2 separate regions of the Homo sapiens genome follow, and region 2 is linked to region 1. The links are contacts of gene promoters, found by promoter capture Hi-C in blood cells and fetal thymus (Javierre and others, 2016). All regions are on one chromosome and are shown on one strand. The core of a region is centred on a gene start or on the middle of the fragment in contact, and the rest is flanking DNA. Distances in the headings are between cores, read along the strand shown.

What was found. Contacts are between HindIII fragments. The CHiCAGO score rates a contact against its expected background, and 5 or more counts as called.
Region 2: a contact is called between a fragment that was not itself captured here and the fragment with the promoter of FZD7 in region 1, in 1 of 17 cell types (fetal thymus). The highest score is 5.8, in fetal thymus.

What each region holds. Positions count from the first base shown.
Region 1 is chr2:202,031,954-202,037,077 of GRCh38, reverse strand. It overlaps FZD7 (frizzled class receptor 7), which reads right to left and starts at 3,223. Exons shown (of 1, transcript NM_003507.2): 1 at 1-3,223. The coding sequence starts at 2,430. The coding sequence ends at 706. RefSeq lists enhancers at 2,182-2,301, 1,499-2,339 and silencers at 2,902-2,981, 3,092-3,641. The HindIII fragment of the contact is 9,940 bases long and covers 1-5,124 here.
Region 2 is chr2:201,775,911-201,780,562 of GRCh38, reverse strand. The region is part of intron 1 of ALS2 (alsin Rho guanine nucleotide exchange factor ALS2); the gene reads left to right. Among named protein-coding and RNA genes, the nearest start is that of ALS2, 2.7 kb to the left of the region's middle. The HindIII fragment of the contact is 272 bases long and covers 3,224-3,495 here.

The DNA.
Region 1 (5,124 bases), core at 1,974-4,473:
CTCAAAATGTTATCATCATTTCTTTTGCATCCTCACATTAGGATTCTAGCAGGCAGGCCTCCCAAGACTTCCAAATGCTTATTTTACAAGACCTGAAAGCAGTACGGGAGGAAAAACAGGCGGGAGGGGGCAGGGGAGGAGAGACCGTAATGTCTGACCCTGGAAATTAACCCATCTGGGCTCCAGTTTGGCCCCAGTGAAAAGAGATTATGGTTTGACCACTGCTTGACAAGCACACCGCAGGAGGCCCTCCCTCTTTCCAACAAAGCAGCCACCGCAGACAGGGCTGTACCTTTCCCGGGGCCTCACAGGGGTCTGGACAGGCCACTCGCCCTGCAGCAGGGGGATCGCTCACAGTCCCCGTTCAGCCTCGGAGCCGGGAGAAACTCACAGCAGTCTCTGCTGGTCTCAACCTTCTATTAGGCACAAGCTGGCCCGTACCTTTGACGATTCACATCGCCGTTATCATCATCTTCCTGCAAGTCTTTGCCTGAAATCTTTTCATCCAAACCGCTTTCCACCCAGGTCTTCTTTTCCAAATCACCCCTCGCCCCAAATCTGCAAAGAACTTCTCACTTCCAGGTCACTTCTCAGTAGAGGGGGAGAAAGTTACAGAAACAGGCCCCCACCCAGCAGTTCTTTTCCCTACCGTGCCTCTCCTCTTGCAAGAGGGCTGGGGTGGGAAAGGTGGGGAGGGGCCGGGGCTCATACCGCAGTCTCCCCCTTGCTGCTGTGGCTAAGTCTGTGGTAGAAGCGGCGCCACGACTGCAGGGTCTTGCCCGACCAGATCCAGAAGCCAGTGGTGATGCCGACGATCATGGTCATCAGGTACTTGATCATGAAGACGGTGAAGTCGGGGCTCATGGGCGGGAAGTGGCCGGGCGGGCAGGGCACGGCATAGCTCTTGCACGTCTGCAGGAGCCAGGTGCGCTCCCAGTGCTCGCGGAAGGCCTGCTCGTAGAAGTAGCAGGCCAGGACGATGGTGGCGGGCACTGTGTAGAGCACGCTGAAGACGCCGATGCGCACCATGAGCTTCTCCAGCTTCTCGGTCTTGGTGCCGTCGTGTTTCATGATGGTGCGGATACGGAAGAGGGACACGAAGCCGGCCAGCAAGAAGGACGTGCCTATGAAGAGGTAGACGAACAGAGGCGCCAGCACGAAGCCCCGCAGCGCGTCCACACTGGAGAGGCCAACGTAGCACACCCCGCTCAGCAGGTCCCCGTCTACCTGGCCCATGGCCAGGATAGTGATGGTCTTGACGGCGGGCACGGCCCACGCGGCCAGGTGGAAGTACTGCGAGTTGGCCTCGATGGCCTCGTGGCCCCACTTCATGCCGGCCGCCAGGAACCAAGTGAGAGACAGAATGACCCACCAGATGGAGCTGGCCATGCCGAAGAAGTAGAGCACCATGAAGAGGATGGTGCAGCCCTCCTTCTTGGTGCCCTGCGCCACCGTGCGGTAGCCATCGTCCGAGAAGCGCTCCACGCACACGGCGCGGTCCTCTAGAAGGAAGCCGGCCACGTGCGCCACGGCCACCATGAAGTAGCAGCCCGACAGGAAGATGATGGGCCGCTCTGGGTAGCTGAAGCGCCGCATGTCCACCAGGTAGGTGAGAACGGTAAAGAGCGTCGAGGCGCAGCACAGCACGGACCACACGCCCACCCAGAGGCGGGCGAAGCGCCTCTCCTCCTCCTTAAAGTACATCAGGCCGTTGGCACGGCCCGGTTCGCACGGGGCGCCACAATCGCGCTCACCCAGGAAGCGGTAGCCCAGGTACGGGGGCACCTTGAGCTGACGGGGGCATGAGAAGGGGAAGGCGGGACGCCCCCTGCCATCTGAGGCCCCCGGGGGCAGCGCGGTGAAGGGCAGGTCCGGCAGGTAGGGCGCGGTAGGGTAGGCAGTGGGGCCGCCGCCTGGGCCCCCGGAGCCGTCCGACGTGTTCTGGCCCACGCAGATCTCGCCCGCACCGTGCACCGGGAAGTTCTCGCAGCGCAGCCGCTCGGGCCACTGGAAGCCGAACTTGTTCATGAGCGCCTCGCAGCCCTGGCGGGCGCGCTCGCACAGAGAACGACACGGCGGGATGGCCTGATCGAGCACGGTGCACACGGGCGCATACATGGAGCATAAGAAAAAGCGGAGTTCGGGAGAACACTGCACCTTCACCAGCGGGTAGAACTGGTGCACCTCGAGGCCCGCGTCCTCTTGGTTCGTGTGGCCCAGCAGGTTGGGCAGGATGGTCTGGTTGTAGGCGATGTCCGTGCACAGCGGGATGGAGATGGGCTGGCAGAAGCCGTGGTCCGGCACGGAGATGCCCTTCTCTCCGTGGTACGGCTGCGCCCCGGCGCCCGCGGACAGTGCGCCCAGCAGCGCCAGCACCAGGGCACAGAGGCCCAGGGACGAAAGCGGAGCGGCCGCGCCGGGGTCCCGCATCGCCGGCCGCGAGTGCAGCGGTGCTCTCAGCCTGAGGAGTGCGACGAGGCGGTTGGGAGAGGCTTGGATGCGGGGAGGCGCCGCCGCGCCCGACGCATGAGAGTCCTCACGGCGCCGGGGCCGGGCCGTGGGCGGCGTGGAGCAAAGGGCGCTGCCGCCTGGGTGCCCGCGCCGCGAAGGCGCCGCAGACGCCGCCGCCCTGCACTCGCAGGGCCGCCGGGGGCCCAAAACTCGTCAGCCTGGGTTGGGGGCGCCGAGGAGGGCCGCCTCGCTCTCCCCGCGGGGACGTAACGGTGCGGCTCCCTCCGCCGCGAGGAGCAACAAGCGGCTCCGGCACCCTTCAAAGTTTGCCCAAGACTCTGGACCCCCGGCGCACCGCAGCGCGCACGCCCCCCGCGCCTGGTCCGGTCCCCGCTAGGAGAACCCCTGCCGCCGCCGCTCGCTCGCCCCGGCCGCCGCCTCCGCGGTGCTGCCCCGCCTCCTGGCCTCGAGGCTCCGCTCGTCGCCGCCTCCTTCGCCTCCTCCTCCACACCCCGCTCCTTCTTCAGCCCCAAAAGCTCGGCCCCAAGTTTCAGCCAAACGGCCGGCTCTTGCTGAGTCCGATCTCGGCCCCGGAGTCGGGAGCACGGCGAGTTCTTTTTGGAAACCCAGTCACACTGCGTCCGAAACCGCGAGGCGCTCGTGCCCGCGGCCTGGCCCCGGCCCCTCCAGCCCCTCGCAGCCCCAGCAGCGAGTCCTGGCGCCCGCCGCCGCCGCCGCCGCCGCCGCCCGCCGGGAGTGAGCGCCGACTAACGCCTCGGAGTCGCGCTGGTCGCCAGAAGAAGCGTCGGGCTCGCGGGGTTCCGGGCCGGCCCGCCCCCTCCCGTCCCCTCCCGTCCCCTCCCCTCCCCTCCCCTCCCCCCCCATTCACAAACCACTCCGGGGGCGGCCCCAGGCCCCGGCGGCCCAATGGCGGCCTTTGTTTTTTCGGTGGCCGCCTTCGGATTGGGCGGAAGTCGGAAGGGGCGGGCGCGGGAGTGGCGGAGGCGGTGTCCGCGGCGCTCTGGGCGGATTCCTGAGGGGAGGGGCGGGGGACTGGGAGGGAAAAGTTCGGAAAAACTTTTACCCTGAATTCGCTCAGGGACGAAAACGCGCAGAAAGGGAATTTGCTTCAAAGATTTGTTCCTCTTCCTGGTGCACTCAGATGCGCATTCCTGAGCAGGGGCGCCTTCGCCAGCGGCGTTTGAGGGGAGCGAGGACCGCGCAGCGCCCCTTCGGGGAGAGACGTGACCAGGAGTCGCGTTAGGACTGCAAAGGCTGGCTCTGGCGGGGCTTTCGGGTCGCCGGGTCCTCAATGTGGGGTTTGGGACGGGACGAGAAGGGGGTGCGCCTTGCGGATCGCCTCTTTCCCCCCGGACCCAAAGAGTCCACGCGAGGCCACAGTCCCCTCTCCCCTCCCCCGAGTTATAAAAAGGAGGAGGGGCCGCCTCCGAGGAGAAACCCGAGTCGGGCGGAGGGGGCCGAGTGACGGCGGGAGGAAGGACCCCTCGGAGGAAGGGCCCGAAGCAGGGAGAGCGGGGAACCCGGGCTCAGGCCACCCCGCCCGCGCGCACGGCCTGGAGTCTGGGGAACTGGGGTGACTCTAGCGAGGTTTTAAGGAAACGAAGACGGCGTTGGGGAGACTGGTTCTAGAAGTAACCTGAGACCGAGCGCCCAGGAACACTCTGTACGACGCGCCGGGCGTCTCAGTGGCCCCGTGTGCCTTGGTTCTGCGGCGTGTGCCCTTTCGGGATCCCATCTTCGTTGCAGAAGCAACCATTTGATCCTCCATTTAGAATCTGCGTAGGAATGTTTTAATGCGTCTTAGAAACCAGGCTAATTAAAGAGTTTTCAAAACACAAAGCGGGGTTATCCTCGTTCTCGGGTAGCGTTTTCTGATTGGCAAACGTTCTTTTGTTCTCGGTTAAATCTTCGTCTTGAGCCAGGCGCTGGGCGCTCGCGCGCGCTCTCTGGTTACTCCTGCGGGGGTCATAAGTCACCAGGGGGCCTCTCCCCTCTCTCCGGGCTGCCAGGAATATCAGGAATTCCCATGCAGGAAAGTGACATGTTGAGAAGGAAAAGAAAAAAATCAATCAATCAATCTCTCCTCCTCCTCCTCTTTCCTCTGTCTCTCTCTCTCTCTCTCTCACACACACACACACACACACACACACACAGCAATCCTGTGCTTTAAAAAACGTTATTCCTGGCGGAGCCCTTCTGCCTCAGTCCCGGGTGCTGGAGCTCTGAGCGATTTCTGATCAGGTTGAACCTTGGCAGAAGTTGCTGTCTCTGCTGCCTCCCGTGCGCTTCTTCTACAGCAGGAAAAAAACTCATTCTGAAATCGAAGACAATTAATTGGGTTCCCTTCCATGGGAGACTTTGGCTTTCTCTGTTTTTCTTTATTTATTTTCGATCACTGAAGATTGCTGGGAATCGTTCTTTCCGATTCACGGTTCTTTGTCCTTCCCCACTCCTGTTAATAGGTCGAAAGGGCGGAAGGAAGCCTTTGGGCCAAGGCAGAGTGTTAGACTGATCACATCCTCCATCCGGCCCTCAGCGGGAGTCGCCTTCTTCCTCCCAAGCATCAGTTTCGCCCTCCCTCCCGGACCCCCCCACCCTTTTTTTCCTTTTCTTTGGGACATGTGCTGAAGGTAATACGATACCTGCTTTAAA
Region 2 (4,652 bases), core at 2,110-4,609, 260 kb after region 1:
CCTCTTCCCGCCTCCACCCACGCTGCCTTCCAGCTATTCATTCACGAGAATTTCTTGAATGCCCACACTAGGCGCTGAGCTGATAAACTGGGGTCCGTGGCCTGGAACCCTGCTGAGTGTCCCTGGCGGCCTTGCCACAGGGTGCAAATCGCGTTGAAGAGTGGACCAAGGGCTACTTGAAAAGGCGGTTGCGGAGAAAGAAAATAGCTTTGATAATAAGAATTAGTAGTTTAGGCAAGTCTTTGAGCCTATCAAGTAATTCATCAAGAGGAGAAGATAAGTTATTTTGAGAAGCGAAGCCAGAAAAATAACACAGGTCCTTGACGCTGGTGTTCGTCCTCGGATAATAGGGCTGCTTTGGAGACAGGCAACAGTAGACTGGTAGAATCGTTCTATTGCTTAAGGCTTTGATGGTGGAAGAGAAAAAACACTCTTGTTGAAGTGGCATATCCAAGAACAGTGCTTTCTTTCTGGTTTAGGATGGAGAAGGAACTGACTGCTGTACCCAAGTGAAGATCTTTACTCAGTTACCCTTATATTTGGCTATATGGAATAAAATTGTGTGATATGTTTATTCTGAGCAGGTACAAAACTTCAGCAAACCTATTGGTCCCACATTTTCCCCCCCATTTATCATATGATTTGGAGTGACCGGTTGACCTTTGAGTTAATGAATAATTTAAAGCAGTGAAAAATTTTTTGCAGTAAACTACGGTGTTTTAACCTTGATAACATAAGCATAGTGGTTAAGATTCTAGGCTTTGTATCTGAACATACCCAGAGTCACATCCATTTACATCTTTGATTTTGGGCAAGTTATTTAATCTCTCTGCCTCAGTTCTCTTGTCTCTAAATTGGGGATAAAAATGTTTTCCTGATAACAGTACCTTTACGTGTAATGGTTCATGTATCGTATTTATTACAGTGCCTGTTTTATGGTAAATATTCAATACATATTAGCTGTTTTTATAATTAATTCCTCCCACTACATCATGATCCAAACTGACTCTTTTCTTAAGTGATGGGGAAGGGAACTGAATATTTTAAGGAAGTAGCTATAAAATATGATTTCAAGTTGTTCTGTAGTAATTTTGGTGTTCCATAAGGACATTTTAATGTGAAAAAGATACTGACAGAATCTATACATGGTTTGAATTTATTAGTTTCTAAACTATGACCAGTATTAGCAGATTTAAAATTCATAATTATAGCAAGAAAACGTCAAAGTTGTTTAACAGTGTTAAAATTTGAAACTGTAATGATCCAGAAAAATGAAATACCAAACCGATAATTTTGGGAAAAAAACAAAACTTGAGTGGCATTATGCAGGCCATTTACTTTTTAAATGTACTCAATATAAACAGGAATCCCTTCTCTCCAAATTTCAGTTTTTCAGAATTTGGGCTGTCATTTGAAACACTTACTTTGGGCACTTTGACTGTTAAAGAAGCAAAGGGTATGCTAAGAACTTCAATGAGTCTTGATGTTAGTGTTTTTGTAATTAGGTGGAATCTCCTACCTTTTCATGAAAACTGGGTTTAAAGCAGTAGCTGCTGGGTCCATTCTAATGATAATCTCAAAAATGTGACTGACTTGTAAAAATCTACAATTATTTATTAATGTGAGACTAGGTAAAGTATGAGTTGAAAAACTAGGAAGAAAGGCAGAGTGGTGATTTTTAAGCTTGTATAAAGGAAGGCCCGCTTTGGGTACTATGAGGTACCTTTCTCACTCAGAGGCATGCTGTGAGGATTTGTGACTTTTAAATCATTTAGCTCTTTTTATAACTTTGTGGAATTAAATCTACCACGTATTTCAAGTGTATTCAGGATATGAATTTTCCTGGTAGAGAGTTTTAACAGATTTTTTTCTCTTAACCCTTCATTGATGACCAAACAATTTTGTTGTCTGTAATAAGAAAGTACTCGGTTTTGTAGGGTGTCAGTCCTTAAGAAAATGTTAGGTAGTCATCAATAAAATAGCAACAATCTCTGGCTTGTTTCTTTTTCATATTGCATTTAATTTTCCTTTCCCTGTCTCTTATTCATCTGTATATGTGATGGTGCTTTCTTTAGCTTATGTCTTGATGTTTGCCTGCATGTAGCTGAACTGATTGATCCAGGTGGGTAGAGGAAAAAATATTTAAATTGGTAGTTTTTGGAGCTATTGTATATTTCTTTCAAATTTGAAGAAAATTTACAGTTTTCTCAATACCTATGAGAAAAAGACTGGGGTTTGTTGGCAGAGTTTCGCTTAGCTGCTAGTGAATTATGTCCAGAGAGAAGATCAGCTTTCATCTCATTAATTCCACAAATTGATCATCTCATGTTTCCCTTAATTATCACATTTTAAATATTTTTCTTTTGAGTCATCACACAGTTCTTCAGTTCACATGGCCTCCCTATCAGGAAGGGAGTGGTTTAGACCCAATAATGGCATTTGGGTGGGCTAACATTCACTCCAGGATTTTTTTTTCTTCCACAGCCTAAATTTTTGTAGAGCCAAGATCTTAACTAAACTTGGGGCAATTGGCTAAGCAAACATATAACAAGGATGATTATAGCAGCTCTTTAAAAGAGCAATAAAGTAGAGCAATCCAACTGTAAAGATTAGTGGGGAAATGGATAAACTGGTTTATTCATGCAATTCAATACTATCTTCTCATAAAAATGAATGAGCTAGATCTATACTTACCAACATATATACATCTCAAGTATGTAATACTGGGTGAAAAAAGCAAAATGCTAAAGGATTTATACAGTAAGATGCATTTGTGTACACTTTGAAAGCAACATAATAGCATGCATTATTTATTGATATGTGTATATCTAATGAAAGTACATAAAAGTAAATATGAAAACGTGGGAATGGGATACATTAACTTTAGAAATAGTAACTAATTCTGAGTGGAGTTTCTTCACCTCTGTAACTTATTTTTTCTTGTGTTTTAAAAAAGAGCTGAAGCCAATATGAAAATATGTTAATATGTGTTAAAACTGGATGATGAGTACATAGATTTGTTATTTATTTTTACAGTTTTATGTATAGTTAAGATAGTTTGTGAAACTAGCACTTTAACATTTTTATTTATAATCAGGACTGTTTCCCAATATGTTTGCTTTATTTTACTTTGTACCCTCAAATTAGGAGACTGTGGAAAAAGAACTCTTCTTTCCCTGCAATAAGAAAGGAATGTGCCAGTGCAGCTCCACTATGTAAAGCTTTTCTAAGGAGAGGAGACAGACCAATTATTTGGTCAGTTTTGCTTTGCTGTTTGTGCTCCTGGGAAAATGCTTTCTTTAGGACATGAAGCCTGCAGGGGAATTAACATTCTAGAGATGCTTGGGAAATGTAGGCATATACCAATCATGAACTCTGGAAGTATAGGGGAGCAAGTTGTATAATAAGGCCCTCAAAGGAATTTGGACATGTTGTGACTCAGATACAAAATTACTACAGATTTGTGTAGTATTAGCATTAACACTTTGAAAAGCTTAACTTGGTTACATTTTATTACAACGTAGTTATCTTGAGTTTATACCTTGAATGCAAGTATCCCAGTTGTTGCTCAAAGAAAATAGTTGTCTCTATAGATATTAGTAAGTAACCTGATGACAATGTGTTAAATGGTTGACTAATGAATAATACGTTTAGTAGCTGATCCCTAATGTAACCTCAGTATTTAAACTTGTGAGTTAAACAATATTTTTATTTCTAATAAAGAGAACCTGCTACTAGCACTATTAAAGCAAGTGAAACTTGTATCACGAGAATAATATTTTTTAGTATGTGTATTTCCTGTTTAGTTATGTGGCCCCTGAATGATCCTAAGCACTGTTATCAGTTGGTGAAAGAAGTCATCATACTTTGAACTGTAAATCTAATATTGCCTTTGAAAAAATTGTGGCCATTTTAATAAGAGAGTAGTTGCAAATATTAACGGAATAAGTAGTTTGTGTCAGGACTTACCAGGACATTCACTGTACCATGTAATAACAGGCACAAATAGTGGCAGTACCTGGGAATTTGAAATTCATTTGTTAGTATTATAATATTCATCACAATGCATCATGGGATTATTATTTAATAATCCTGAAAAATGTGTTTAAAATATGCAGTGGGTACAAAAAAGAGCTAAATGGGCATTGCTGGGAACTTATTGTACCATGTTTACACACTTTCCCCCCACTCCACCATGAATAATTTCCGATTAGAGGATCGTCATAACCAGGAGAGTGTAGTTTCAGTAAGTTTCAGCATGAAATTAGCAAGGCATTAAAAAAAGACTGTAAAGTCTTCCTGTTTCTCATTGCACCAAAAGCTGTCTGTGTACTAAGGAGAAAGGGAGAAAGGAACACTTCTCTGAGTTGTTTAACCATTTTTAAAGTGACATGAGATAAAAGTGTCTTCATTGTTAGGATATACCTTTAGCAAATTATATATGAGAGTTTCTATTAGGAGAAGACACTTTTTTCTTTTGTATCTGTTACTGACTTTTATTACAGGCACTAGAAATCTATAGCGTGGAAGTCTGTGGATTGCAACTGAAAATCAGGGGCTGTATCTTTCACTCAAGCACTCACTTAAATGTAACCAGCTTGTTCAGAATGATTATTATGGGTACAAGAGTATACCGGTGAATAAGTCATAGT